Linked DNA regions of Homo sapiens: all the other regions are linked to region 3. The links are contacts of gene promoters, found by promoter capture Hi-C in blood cells and fetal thymus (Javierre and others, 2016). All regions are on one chromosome and are shown on one strand. Each heading gives the region's core, a stretch centred on a gene start or on the middle of the fragment in contact. The rest is flanking DNA. Distances are from core to core; before and after follow the strand shown. Region 1 overlaps INPP4A (inositol polyphosphate-4-phosphatase type I A). Region 2 overlaps INPP4A (inositol polyphosphate-4-phosphatase type I A). Region 3 holds the start of TSGA10 (testis specific 10).

The links. The method cuts DNA at HindIII sites, captures the fragments that hold promoters and counts their contacts. A CHiCAGO score of 5 or more calls a contact.
Region 1: a contact is called between a fragment that was not itself captured here and the fragment with the promoter of TSGA10 in region 3, in 1 of 17 cell types (naive CD8 T cells). The highest score is 5.3, in naive CD8 T cells.
Region 2: a contact is called between a fragment that was not itself captured here and the fragment with the promoter of TSGA10 in region 3, in 2 of 17 cell types (naive CD4 T cells and total CD8 T cells). The highest score is 5.3, in naive CD4 T cells.

The regions. Positions count from the first base shown.
Region 1 is chr2:98,550,217-98,554,777 of GRCh38, reverse strand. INPP4A (inositol polyphosphate-4-phosphatase type I A) reads right to left here. Exons shown (of 25, transcript NM_001134225.2): 14 at 1,809-1,992; 15 at 289-507. Among named protein-coding and RNA genes, the nearest start is that of COA5, 56 kb to the left of the region's middle. RefSeq lists an enhancer at 1-404. The HindIII fragment of the contact is 7,637 bases long and covers 1-4,561 here.
Region 2 is chr2:98,572,994-98,576,704 of GRCh38, reverse strand. All of the region lies in intron 23 of INPP4A (inositol polyphosphate-4-phosphatase type I A), which reads right to left. Among named protein-coding and RNA genes, the nearest start is that of COA5, 34 kb to the left of the region's middle. RefSeq lists a silencer at 2,275-2,457. The HindIII fragment of the contact is 2,224 bases long and covers 1,350-3,573 here.
Region 3 is chr2:99,152,593-99,157,608 of GRCh38, reverse strand. It overlaps TSGA10 (testis specific 10), which reads left to right and starts at 2,667. Exons shown (of 21, transcript NM_025244.4): 1 at 2,667-2,916. LIPT1 (lipoyltransferase 1) reads right to left here and starts at 2,642. Exons shown (of 2, transcript NM_145199.3): 1 at 2,558-2,642. RefSeq lists enhancers at 2,065-2,114, 2,145-2,224, 2,305-2,504, 2,535-2,764, 2,825-3,024 and 1 more. The HindIII fragment of the contact is 4,304 bases long and covers 1-4,260 here.

The sequences.
Region 1 (4,561 bases), core at 684-3,183, 600 kb after region 3:
AGGAGAGACCTCCAACACGGGAGGAAAACCCACTTGTCTTCCTCTTCATCCAGGTCTGAGGCTGGCCCAGCCCCCAGCACAGCCCTACCCCTATCTGGACACAAGGGTTTGAAAACAGTCTCCTCCCTCCCTGCATCAGGAGCCAAGGAGCCATCCAGGAAGGAAACCTGGAGCTTGTTCACAGCAGTTGAACCTTGAGGCACTTCAGAGGGGCAGAGACTGGCAACAGGTTTTGTGGTTTTCAGCCCAAGTTCAGCAGTGGGATGACAGCCACAGCAGCAGACTCACCCACTCCTCCTCGTGCCAGTCCACCTGCAGGGAAGATCGGCTGTTTCTCCCTGTCCACCGGGCCATGAGGGTGTCCTGGTCATTTCTAAGCATCACCTGCTCCTCCTCAGTCGAAGTGGGAGAGGCCTTGGAGGCAATGTAGTCAGGCCGTGCAGCGTTCAGCCCATGGATGGAGTTGGCCAGGAGCTTGCAGTCGCAGACCGTGACCAGCTGCCGTGTCTGCAGGTGCACACAAACCAAGGCTGCTGAGCCCAGGCCAGGGGCTGGGGAGGCCCCTGCCTTATCTCAGAAATGGAGAATGGGCTTAAAGCCCAGCACTGCACCCCTCTGCCTTTCTCCACAGTGCAAAGCAACTGAAGGGCTACATCCCTCAAGATGTCTGAGTACAAAGACTGCCATGTGGCCCACTTGGGCTGAATCTTAACAAGAATTTCCCACCAAGGAAGAGAAGAGGTTGAGAAATCTCTGACATTCTCTGATCCCTGCCTACCTCTGACCTGTGATTGCTAGGGGAGGGGCCTGCAGAGAGAGCCCACTGCCCCAGCCTTGACAGACTTCCACCTTCCAGGGAACAAGTGTCCAGGGGTCAGGCCTTACTTTGGTTCAATTGTGTAAGTCTTATCTTTTGTTCCTCAGCATCTAATACCTCAAGTTCTGGGTTCTGGGTAGCTGGCCTCCTGGCACAACATGTCTGGTTTTGGAGAATTCTGCATGCAACACGGGTTCTGTGGTTCATAATGTTACTGCTGACAACTACATCTTTCTTTTCCAGGGGATCTAATCCCCACCTCACACTCTATGCTGTGTGAACACCTGTGAAGGATATAACACATTCTGATCAGGAACAGCAGCTCAACAGCACAGTGAGTGTGAGTGTGGAGGTATAGTCAGAATCTGGGGTGTGTGTGTGTGTATGAGAGCGTGTGTGTGTGTATGAGAGCGTGTTTGTGTGCGCTGAGAGAGAGACCAAGTAATGGGGAAAAGTATCATCCATCAAAAGGGTCTGATAATAGCCACTTCCTCAGTAGGGATTAATACTTACATATTTTAAAACCAGGATCAAGTTATGGCTAAGTAGAAGCTGGTTTACTGACTATATGTAAGCCAATAAAATTATATTCTTCTTATGTCTGTATAATAGCTCAGTTTCTGTTTTCAAATTCAACTAAAATAGAAATGTGGCCAAAAAAAAAAAGTGCTAGTTAGGCTGTTACTGAGAAAGAAGTGGAACTGTATCACCCTCAACAAAATGAGCCCCATGGACTTGCTGAAGGGCACATGTGCCTGAAGCTGCACCTAAGAGTCATGAGCCCTGGGCTCTGCCCTTGGTCTGTCCAGCTCTGCGGACAAATCACAAAACCTCCCTGGGCCTTTGTGCGAAATGGACCTAAGGTAGACCTTCAAAGTCATCCCAATGTCACGCTCTTTGTGGACCATCTTAGGTACACCTGGGCTGCCTGGTGGCTTCCAGAAACCCAAGGAAACTCCCCAGCCCATATGTAGCAGGGCACCCCTCCTACCTTGTCTGCCAAGATGGCGAGTGTCCTCTCAAGGCCAGTGGCAGACCTGTCCTTGGCTGCCCTTGACAGCCGCTCTGCGTAGTAACTCACTTGGGTTTTCAGGGTGTTGATCTGGGCGATGATCTCCTTGGCTCTGACAACATCCTGGGGTATGTAGATTATGGACTGGCAGCCAGATGATGTACTGGAAAGGATAAGAATGGATTCTAAGGGATTCTCCAGAATCTGAAAAGGATGACAGCATCATTCCAACCCCAGCCACAATTGACCCTAAGATGAAGTGTTCTGTGACTCAGGGATGTTCTCTCAAGCTACTCTAGTTGTTGATGAGCAAAGTATATCTTAGGAGATTCTTCCTGTCTATATGGCAGGAGCTTGAAATATTAAACTATGACTCAGTCTTTTATCTGTATTTGCATGTATCTGTATTTTTACTTGTGTATGTAAATGTATGAACAGGTATTGAACAATCATATCCCATAATCACCCAAATGATCGTAATCTTCCACCTCACAACCTCATCTATTAACTTATAAGCAGTACTTAAGTGGAGACATAGAGGCCATTTACAGAAGAAGGGGTCAGGTTATCACAGTGTAGCAGAGACTGCAGTGGGTGTTAGACTTTGTCCCCAAACAACCAAAACCTATTTTTTCTTTTGGCCAATCAGGCATTCAAGCTCCCTGTGAACATACCCACAGTCGTCCTTCCTCTCATGTCTGACCCCAGCAAGTCCCTAGAAAATGGGGTTTCCTTTCCCTTTCCTTCGCTCCAGGACTTCCCTACTTTGAAAAATAACGTTTCATCAAATGAAGAAAAAGTGGAGAACATGCCAAGCCACAGGCAAAGCCGGACTCCTCAGTGGCTTTGTAACCCTGGCTCTCCCTCCTTCCCACCTCTTCGCCACCAAGCAGCGTGTGTGTCTAGGGATCTGATGCCAAGCCTACAGCCCAGCCCCTCCCAGCACAATCAGGAGGCTCTGAAAGACCAACTTCACATCCTCCCGCTGTGGGGGCCTGGCCAGTGTGTTGGGTCCAACTAAACGGTGATGATAAATTGCATGTCTCTTAGCCTGATCCCAATCAATCCAATATTATAAATTTATTTTTCAGACCATCTGAGGAAGCTGAAGAAAGCAGGAAGAAGTACAAGCCACCAATGCAGAGGTCTCCTCCTAAAATTTGAAATTGTGAGCTCTGGGTAGAATGGGTGTCCCTTCGCTCATGGGATGAGGGGTCCTGACTGGTCCCTAAAGGGCTACCCTTTGAATTCTGGGGAAGAGAGAGAGAGGAGGAGCGAGGGCACCTCTCACCACATCCTCCATCACTTCCCCTGGAGATGACAGTCACCTTGGTCAGGGCTGAGAATCTTCCCCATTGGCCCCTTCCCAGGGAAGTCCCAAAGTGGTTCATCAAGAAACCACCACTACCCCTTCCCTTGCTGGATTATGTGGCAAACATGCAAAAACCGAAAACCAAAGCACCCCGGAAAGAAACACCACCACCACAAGCCCACACGCCACAGTAAAAAACAATGGATGTGCCAGAAGCCCATGCAGCAGACCGCACTCAAGCTCGTGGGGCACAACAGGAGTCATTCCACAGCATGATGTGCACACTACTTTCCAATCTGCAATCACTCTTCCAAATGAATAGCTGCCTTCTAAGACCATTTCATCTTAAAAAGACAATCTCAAAATAGGATTTTAAAAAATCAATTCAGCCAAGCATGGTGGCCTATAATCCTAGCACTTTGGTAGGCCAAGGTGGGTGGATTGCTTGAGCCTGGGAGTTCAAGATCAGCCTGGGCAACATCGTGAGACCCCACCTTTTAAAAAAATTTAAAAATTAGCTAGGCATGGTGGCTTGTGCTTGTGGTTCTGGCTACTTAGGAGGCTGAGGCAGGAGGGTCAACTGAGCCCAGGAGTTTGAGGCTGTAGTGAGTTATGACGGTGCCAGTGCACTCCAGCCTGGGTGACAGAGCAAGACCCTGACTCCAAAAACAGTGGAAAAAAAAAAAGGATTCTTCCCAGGCCCCCAATATTTAGAGTACATATATAAAATGTGCTGTATGTAGATCTACTTCTGTGTAAGGAGGTGGCTGTGTACCCTTCAACAAATACATACCCTCTGCCCAGGCCAAGAGAAAAGCACTACCCTATACTTGCCCTGTATTCTCACAAGTCATGTTTTAATGATGATACCTGGGACTTATGCATGGGATATACATGGCAGGGGCAAGAAAAGGCAAATTTCAAAGAGGTGCTGTTTAGGATGATGAGGAAAATACAAGCATGTGTGCTCAACTACCTAGTTTTAAAAACCAGGCAGCCACATGAGGGCGGCAGGATGGAGGTGTAGACATGAAGCCTAGGGGCAGCCCCAGGAGGCAGTATCCTAGGTATAGCCCTTGGACTTTGCATTAGGCCCCCACCCCAGACCCGGACCTACCCAGAGCTGGGGTCATGGGCTAAACTGAAGATGCCATGAGAGCGTAAGGGTGGAGTCTTGTGGCCCTGGCCAGGAACTGCTGGTAACTGCTGAGCAACAGTCACTCTGGACATTAGAAGAGCAGGATCACCTCTGCAGAGGCTGAGCCCCCATGGAGCTGGGTTCTGCAAGGGTAGGAGGATTGGGAGGCTGGGTCCTCTCTGCCTGGGATTTAGCCCCTCACAGTCTCCAGGCAGGGACACTCCTTCTGCCTGTAACCCTCCCCGCTCCATCCCCTCCCTGCTTCAGGGACAGTCTTGTATA
Region 2 (3,711 bases), core at 1,212-3,711, 580 kb after region 3:
ACTCTTTTGCAGTCCGCTGTCCCCTTCCAAGCCATGCCTGGGCCCTCTTATCACGTTCAGCCCTTCACTGCTGATCCCTCAGGGAAAGAGGGCGGCAAATATGACCCACTGGGGAAGCCAGAGCCACTCTCAGGATGCCCACAGTCCTGGGCCAGGTCTCTAGGTCTCCCTGGAAGGTAGGGAACAGACCTACTATCTCTACTCTCCTCTTTCACCTGAACAGACGGGAGCAGCTCAGAAGTTGCACTGCCCTTTGGCCACCTCCTGACCACCAGCCCCACAGGCCTCCTCCCGCCATACTTTCCCGGTAGCAGAGTTACTGCCAGCACACTTCCCTCCTCACAACTGAATGGCTCACAGAGTAGGGGGCAGGGCAGCCTCTGGACTGGGAAAAGGCCACCTGAGTGCACCTCCTCTCCCCATGGGGAGATTTCAGGGCATTTTCCCTGCACCTCTAGATACAATCCTAGGCACACAGTCACCAAATCCATCAAGCTCTGAAACAAGGTAATTTTTTCATGTAAATCTGTGGCAATCTCATTTGGCAGCACAACCAGACCTGAGCTGATATAAGACTACTTGCAATCTTTACTTATCCCATTTTATGTAAATATTCATACTTTTCAGTGTGGCAATAATATGAGCTTGGTTGCAGAGTGCTGTCTCAGGCTCCCCCGGGGATGTTAAATCCTGTATGTATACCATGGTACACATATGCGATGGGCACCATATTACTTACATAAGTAAACACCAACTGTGTACCACAGTACTTTCTAAAATCTGAAAACCTGTGCATTCCAAAGCATCTGGCCACAGGGGCTTCAGATAAAGGACTATGCACCGTATCAGATACTGCACTATGACACCAAGGCTGGTATTTAATGAAACATCATCCAAGTGATATGATGGTGGGCTCCGGGTATCTGTTGTATGCCAGAAAAATATCAGTGTCTCATCAACTCCTGAAGATGGCACAACACCTGCTTGTCAGGCCAGCAAAGCCAAAGAGCATGCCAGTCACTACCAGGATCATCACTAGACACGAACATGGTACAGTGCTAAGAACCTCGTCTAGGGAAAGGCAAAACAAAAGACCCAATGTTCAGGCAAGACAATCAGAAGGAGAATAGGCTTCTTCTGAGAACAGACCAACAAAAAGAAAGAAAAAAAAATAACAGGCCCTAAGCAGATAAGCAGACCCTAAGCTAATGGAGAGTAAATTAATCAAATTTGTAAAGTTGTAACTGACAAAGCAAGAGTGAACTTGGTATGTGCACTAAATTCTGTGGGCTGTAGAGTTCATGACCCAAACACATGACGGAAGCTGGAACTATAGGTTTCAAAAAGCTTTAAATTCATAGATGCTGCATCCAGAGCTAACGTGAGGTTCTGGAAGGCAGGCAGGGATGGCCAGTGATGCATCCTTGCCCAAGAGGGCACTGCAGTGCCAGGCTTCCATCCCAGAGGGACACCAGCCACTTGTGGTGCACTGCTGGGTCTCCCCATCCATGAGATATAGGCTTAGACCTGACTAAAGATATTCCAGCTATTCAGCCAGGGACCCTTTATTCATACACACAAACAAAAAGAAATAAGAGCCTGAAAAGGAGAGCAGCTCTGCTCAAACTGGGGATGGAAGGACTCAGTACCTGAGTGGCTGGCACTGCTGCCCCACAACCCCTTATCCCCAGGGGATGCCTGGGATTCGGTGGACAACGTGAGAACCCATGCAGCCAAGGGTCTCTGAGAGCCTTGCACCTCTACACTCATGCTTGTTACCCTGAGATCTCTACTGGGAACAAGAAATACAGGACTTGATGGACTGCTTTTCTGTTCTGGTGACAGGGGATGGTCAGTTGTCCCTATACTTAATGATTTTTCTATTATATGGCAATAGACAGGTAGAACCACAGTTCCCAAACAAGATATGCACAAGGTCTCTGCACTACTCGTCTGTAAACTGCCTGTGTGTGTATTCCAAGGAGAACGCATCAGTGAACGCACATCCCCCACCACTGTTCAGACACCTAGCTGTGTCACCCTCTGCATTCTTTTTTTTTTTTTTTTGAGATGGAGTCTCACTCTATCACCCAGGCTGGAGTGCAGTAGTGTGATTTCGGCTTACTGCAACCTCCGCCTCCCAGGTTCAAGCAATTCTCCTACCTCAGCCGCCCGAGTAGCTGGGATTACAGGCATGCGTCACCACGCCTGGCTAATTTTTGTATTTTTAGTAGAGATGGGGTTTCACCATGTTGGCCAGGCTGGTCTCGAACTCCTGACCTCAGCTGACTCACCTACCTCGGCCTCCCAAAGTGCTGGGATTACAGGCGTGAGCCACCGAGCCCGGCCACCCTCTGTATTCTTCGTGTCCTGTGGGAAAGGCTTGCTTTTCACACAAAATCTCTTAAGGTACTTAGGTAAGAGGCTGTCACAGCCTGGCCAGGGGGGTTTAGCAACCCCCCAGGAAAAATAAAAGTAGGGAGCCCCCTCTGTCCTGCTGCAGAGACCCCCGTAGCCAGTGTGTGCCCTGCCCTACACCCCGCTTGCTGGGCCTGGCCTGAGCAAGCAATGCCAGATGAGGCCCCAAAACCAAGAGGATACCTCAAAAATGAGGCCTGAGAAACCTGCCGAACTTCCTGTCACTTTGTGCTTCAAAATGTGTTCTGTTATAATGAAAAGATTTAGAGGGCAGCCAGGCCCAGAGAGGGGAGACCTGCAGATTGATCCACCCCACGCTTCCCACAAAGATAAAGTCTGACCAGCTGAGGAACTCAAAAGATGGAGGGGAATGTTCACTCTTTAAAGCTGAATTCAACAAAATGGTATCAGCAGCCACAACTGTTAACAAACCCAGAAGTGGAGCACATTCAAAAAGTGCGGCTTCATGAAGCCCGGCTTGAACACAGGACTAATAACCAACCCGAAGTGGCGGCCATGCACCATGAGCAGCTGAGACGGTCTGCTGCTGTAGAAGAGACTCGGGGCTGAGAGAAGCACCTTCCTGACAAGACGGAGAGGCACACTTCAGAGTGAGCTGCTCAGGGAAGCTGTGGAGGGCTGGACCCTCTGCTGCTCGAGCTCTGTGACGAGGCGTGGTGGCTGAGGTGTGGTGGGCAGTGCAGTGCCACCTCCCTCCTGGGCTCACCATCCCTCTCCTCAGGCCCAGGCAGGGAGCGGGAATGCCACTGGGGCCATGTGTGCCCGAGTCCCAGCGCTGGGCAGGTTATGCTGCTGTGGAGAAGAATTAACCTCGCCCCTCATCAAGGGTGAATGAATGACCAGCTATGAAATTGGTCTGTTACCCAGGCTCAGAGCAGTGGCTTGGAATTCCACAAGTAAACTTTGGAGAAAATATGAGCAGGGTAAGTGCTTGGGAAAATGAGGAGATCAGAGGCACAATGGACGATAAAGATGGTTTAAAGAGACCTGAAAGGTCACATGGCCTCCTTCTGACCCTATTAAATGATGCAGTAGACAGTGGTTTTCAGCTGGTATCGATCGCCAGGCTTCTGAGGGTGACAACTGTCATCAGCCTGGCTAGTAAATGCCCCAAGAGATGGACTGTGTTAAGCTTATCAGAATTCAGGCAGCCCCAAAGGAATGGACTCTGTGAACTGTTCAGTCTCTTTCAGAGCTTCAGAACGTACTCAGTGACTCCCTCCTCTCCCAGTATGGAGAGCTCTGCTCTCCTGCTGAGATTCTACTTTGTAA
Region 3 (5,016 bases), core at 1,418-3,917:
GCAAATAAGATGAGGGTTGAAAAGGATCTATTAAACAGTATCAAGAAGGTTATCAGTGATCTTGGTAAGAACCAGATGTACTGAGTAAATAGGAGGCCCAAGGTGGATACAATGAGGGTATTCTAGTTGTGAAGTGGAAAAGCTAGGGCAGTAGGTAGAAAGGAATGTGGAGTTAGGAGAGGACTTAAGATGCAATAGATCTGAGCATGTTTAGATGCTGGTAGGGGAGTCAAGAGAGGGCAACACTGGAGAAGGGAGGTCCTTGAGAAAGTGATGGTACTGGGATCCAGAGTTCAGGTAGGGGCAGCCTTAAAGGAGAAAGTAACAAATAGGAGTGGTGGTCACTAATAAGCTGGATGGTGTCTGTGGATATGGAAATTGTCAAAGATCTTGTGAAATATCTTTTCCCAAGATTAAGGCTCTTACTCTTGTCTGCATGTGCAGAGTGTGGCAGGATGGCAAAGTAGTTAAGGACTTAAATTTTTAATCCTGGCTCTGCCACTTACTAATGACTTTAGGGAAGTGGTTTAACCTCTAGCTGCTTCAGTGGCCTCAGACGTCATAAAATGGTTGAGAGAATTAAATGTGTTAATATGCATAAGCCATTCATGTTTGGCAAATATGAAATGTTAACTGTTATGACAGGGTTCTCCCTTTCCCATCTCTATTCTGTGCTTACTGTTCCTATCATATACCATGTATTCCCTCAAGTGAACAAAGATTCCTAACCAAGACACATCAAAGTGGCATTTACCTTGATAAATTAACTATAGTCCAAGATATTGACTTTGGTCAAAAATGTGATCTTGTTAGGGTTCCAGAATTGATCCAATTCATGTATTGAGCCAATGCATGTATTTTAATAGTGCTAAAAATATCTCTCTTCATCCAGGTATTGTATATACAGTGTGAATAAAACACAACAAAGGTATTAATTCAACAAAGTTTTCATCAATTACATGACAGACATTGTTCTTAGCACTTGGGAATCATCAGTGAGTCAAATGAATAAAGGTGATAAGGAGGGCTATTAAAAAAAGTAGATGGCCGGGCGAGGTGGTTCACACCTGTAATCCCAGCACTTTGGGAGGCCAAGGTGGACAGATCACCTGAGGTCAGGAGTTTGAGACCAGCCTGGCCAACATGGTGAAACCCCGTCTCTACCAAAAATACAAAAATTACCTGGGCGTGGTGGCAGGCGCCTGTAATCTCAGCTACTCGGGAGGCTGAGGCAGGAGAATCGCTTGAACCCGGGAGGTGGAGGTTTCAGTGGGCCGAGATGGGCTGGGCAACAGAGCGAGATTCAGTCTATTAAAAAAAAATGTAGAGCTGATAAAGGGAGGATTGTAACTGTGTATGTGAGAAAACTTACATTGCAATTTTAAATAGGGTTGTTAGGCTAAGCCTCATTAAAAAGGCATCATGTGAGAAAAGATGCAAGAAGCTGTTCTAAGCACCTGAACACGTAAACCAATAAACAGACCTCAGTGAGGATGTGACATTTCAGTTGAACCCCGAAAGATAAGAAAAAATCACACAGAGTGAGAAAAAGTGAAAACAAAGGGATGTCCAAAAATCCCTGACTGCCAGCTTATTGATTTACAAAGAGAACTATAGACCATCTATCAGATATTCAGATGAGCCTGTGCAATTATTCACTGTAGGTCTGGTGACAAGCCAACTCTTAAGTTTGCTTGGTGAATACATAATCAGAAAAGGACTGAGTTACATGATATGAACGTCTGACGGAATGGGCTCTGGGGAAGACACTTCCTTAACTCAGGAGAGCCCCTGCTCTTAAGCCGGGATACCCTCTCTCCCCTAGAGAAGGCGTGGATTCATCTGGCACAGGTGTGCCCCTCTTTTTTTATTCTATGCTCCAGTAGCGGATCAGACCCCGACTGAGTAATGCACGGTATTTCAGGATATTTCACAGTCGTTGGGATAGTGTCAAGCCTTTGAAGTTCTGGTTAAATTTTGTTCCTTCAAAATCACTTTGAATCTTTCTACTCTCACCCTTTAATGACTAATTTTTTGAAGTTTTTCCTCGGAAGACTTCCTTACCTTCCATGTTCTTGGGACACTTCGCTACCTCTGCACTGCCAAACACGGCTCCCCATCACTGAACTGAAAGCGAAAACAGCACAATCCCATCTATCTTTCTAGGCAGGCGCAGCTTCTTCATAAGACCTCGCCAAGACCCTATTATTTTGTCCCCTCTCTAATGATATACAACTTACTCAGAATCTCATTACGGTCGTGTGCATGTTTTACTTCGCCCTTTTGGCTCCCAGGGGGCGTGCACACAGCTAGCGTCCAACATGTTTTACGATATTTACCCTCCCTCCTGTGTTCGGGATCAACCGTTCCTAACAGTGAAATTAGGTCGTCCCAAGTGCTGAGGAGAAAGTGTGCACACAAGAGGCTTCAACACCGGCGGAGGCGACCCGCAAGTCCTGACCCACCGCCAGAAACACCGCGCGCGCCCAAGACCCCACGGCCGCCCACGCGCTACGGCCCGCAACATCCCGGTTTGAAGCGTTTCCGCTTCACCCACCTGCGGCTTCCGGTCGTACCCACGGCCTCGTGAGGGCTCGAGCTGGAAAAGTGCGTCATACGACCCCGAGCAACCGGCAGGCCTTGCGCGCGATGCTGCCCCGCCCCCTGAGGGCCGGCCCCCTGAAGCGCAAGAGAAGGAGGGGCGCGCAGGGATCGCGCCTAGTCTCTCCGCCTGCGGAGCCGTGGGGTCCCGGCAGCCCGCAGGAGTGCTAAGTAAGGGTCCTTCAGGGCGGGAACCAGGTTCCAGGCAGGGACGCAGGCTACGTTCGAATAAAAGTACCGAAGGTCATAAGGCCCCAGTTCAGATGGGACTTCCCCGCGTGACAGCACAGAGATAACGGCCAGCCCTGGGCGAAGGTAGGAGAGCGGGCGTGCCAGGTTGGAGGGGTCATTTCGTGGAGCGAGTTTAGGGGGAGCCCCCAGAAGCCCAGAGCAGTCAGGTCACACGACGGGCAGGAAGGAGTACCAGCAAATACTTTTTATTGAGCATACAGGTATTACGCTGGGTCTTTACATATCTCCTCCAAATAAGTGAGTCCAAATGGCAGGTAACTCGAAAGGTGAGAAATTCAAGTCAGCTTTGAAAGACACATTGCATTTAAAGGAAAAACGGTATTCGCAGATGATAATACAGGATGGAGTGGATCAGAAAACACACTGAGGCTACTGATCATTCCCATTTGCCAACTCACTGCAGTTGGCAAGAAAACTCTGTGACTCCATGAGATGGGAAATTACACCAGCAGTCAAGGTAGCAAGGTAATAGTTTCGGCTAAGTTTTGCTGCATAACAAACTGCCTCAAATAGTGGTTTATATCTCTAACGTGGGCAAGGTGGGTGATTCTTCTGCTAGTTTCTCCTGGGCATATTCATGTGGCTTCATTCAGCACAGGTTGGCTACGCTGGGCGGTCCAAGATAGCCTTATTCATGCTCTGGCAGGTGCTGCCTGGCTGCTAGGGCATCTCAATTCAGGCCTAATCTTGGAAGCAGCGCCTCAGCCATATTCTATTGGCCAAAACAACAACAAAGCCAGCCCAGAGTTAAGGCGTGGGGTAATGGACTTCACCTCTTGATGAAAGAAGCCCAAAGAATTTGTGGTCACCTTTTTCAACCTTGCACAGAAATTAATCTCTCCTTCAGTTAAAATAGAAACCACTAAGACTTGCCTCTTGGAGTAAGAATCATTCAGTGTTCAGTTTGCTGATGCTGATACGGTAAATGACCAGGGCTTCATATAAAGCTACAATGAAGACATAATGACACCTCCTTTCTTTATTATCACACCTTTTACCAAGGTCACTCTGAGTAAGTCTATCTTGTATTATGCAGGTGGGAATGAATTTTGTTCAGAGTTAACTGCACTAGGAATTTTCCTAGTTATTATTAAAAACAGTCACAGAATATTGTTGCTCTTTGCTTATATTACTTCCTTCTAAATTCCCTTTCTCTGAAATCTGAGATGGTACAACTTTGGTTTTTTTTCCTAGTTTCTTGATGAAGAGGTTTTAAAGAATCCCATTCCCTCCTCCCTGCTCCAGGACTTCTGTCCCTTGGTTATTCTTACCTTTACCTACTTCTTCAGCTTCTCCACTGGAACCTTTCAAGTGACACTCAAACATGCTGTACTCTTTAACAATCCTCCAGTGACCTCATTTCTCTTTCCACTTGTCATCCTGTCTGCTACCCTTCTGAGCCAAGCTTCTTGGAAAAACTGCTATACATCCAGTATCTACTTTCTCACTTCCCATTCATTGTTTCAACGTACTCCAAAATGGCTTTTCCCCATTATTCCAGCAAAAGTGCTTTTGCTAAGGTCACGGGTGACATTCATATTGCTAGATCCACTGGACTTTTCAGTATTCATCTAAGTGTTCATTTGACTACCTCAACCTGGAGATTCCTGTGGACAACTTTGACATTACCCTGTCAACTCCTCAGTCCCTTTTGCCAGGTTTTCCTCCAGCCTCACTGCCAACTCCGCAGTCCCCTTTGCCAGCTACCCTGATCTAGTCAGCCCTAAATGTTGGAGTTCCTCAGATCTTTATCTCACACTACATTTTCCTTAAGCAATTTCATTCATTCTATGGCTCTAAGTACCATTTCTGTATACAACTTCAAAATTTATATTTTTTAGTTCCATAGATACAACTGCCTTGTAAACCTGGTAAGTCTAAAAGCCATGCTCCTGAACTCACTCTTTCCCCCCAGGGATCCTGCATGCATAAAGGCTAAAGCCTTTTTTGCCAGAAGCCCTTTCTTCTTCCTCACTTTCCGCTTCCAAACCATGACTACATCCTGTCAGACTTCACCTGGACTCTATCCCCTTCTCTCCACTTTTATGACCATCACCATCATTCACTTAGACAACCATGTCACTGCAAAAGCTATAAATGTCCTCAGAGGCTGCTCTATGGAGTAGCCATTCTGTTTCTTTACTTTCTTAATCAACTTGCTTT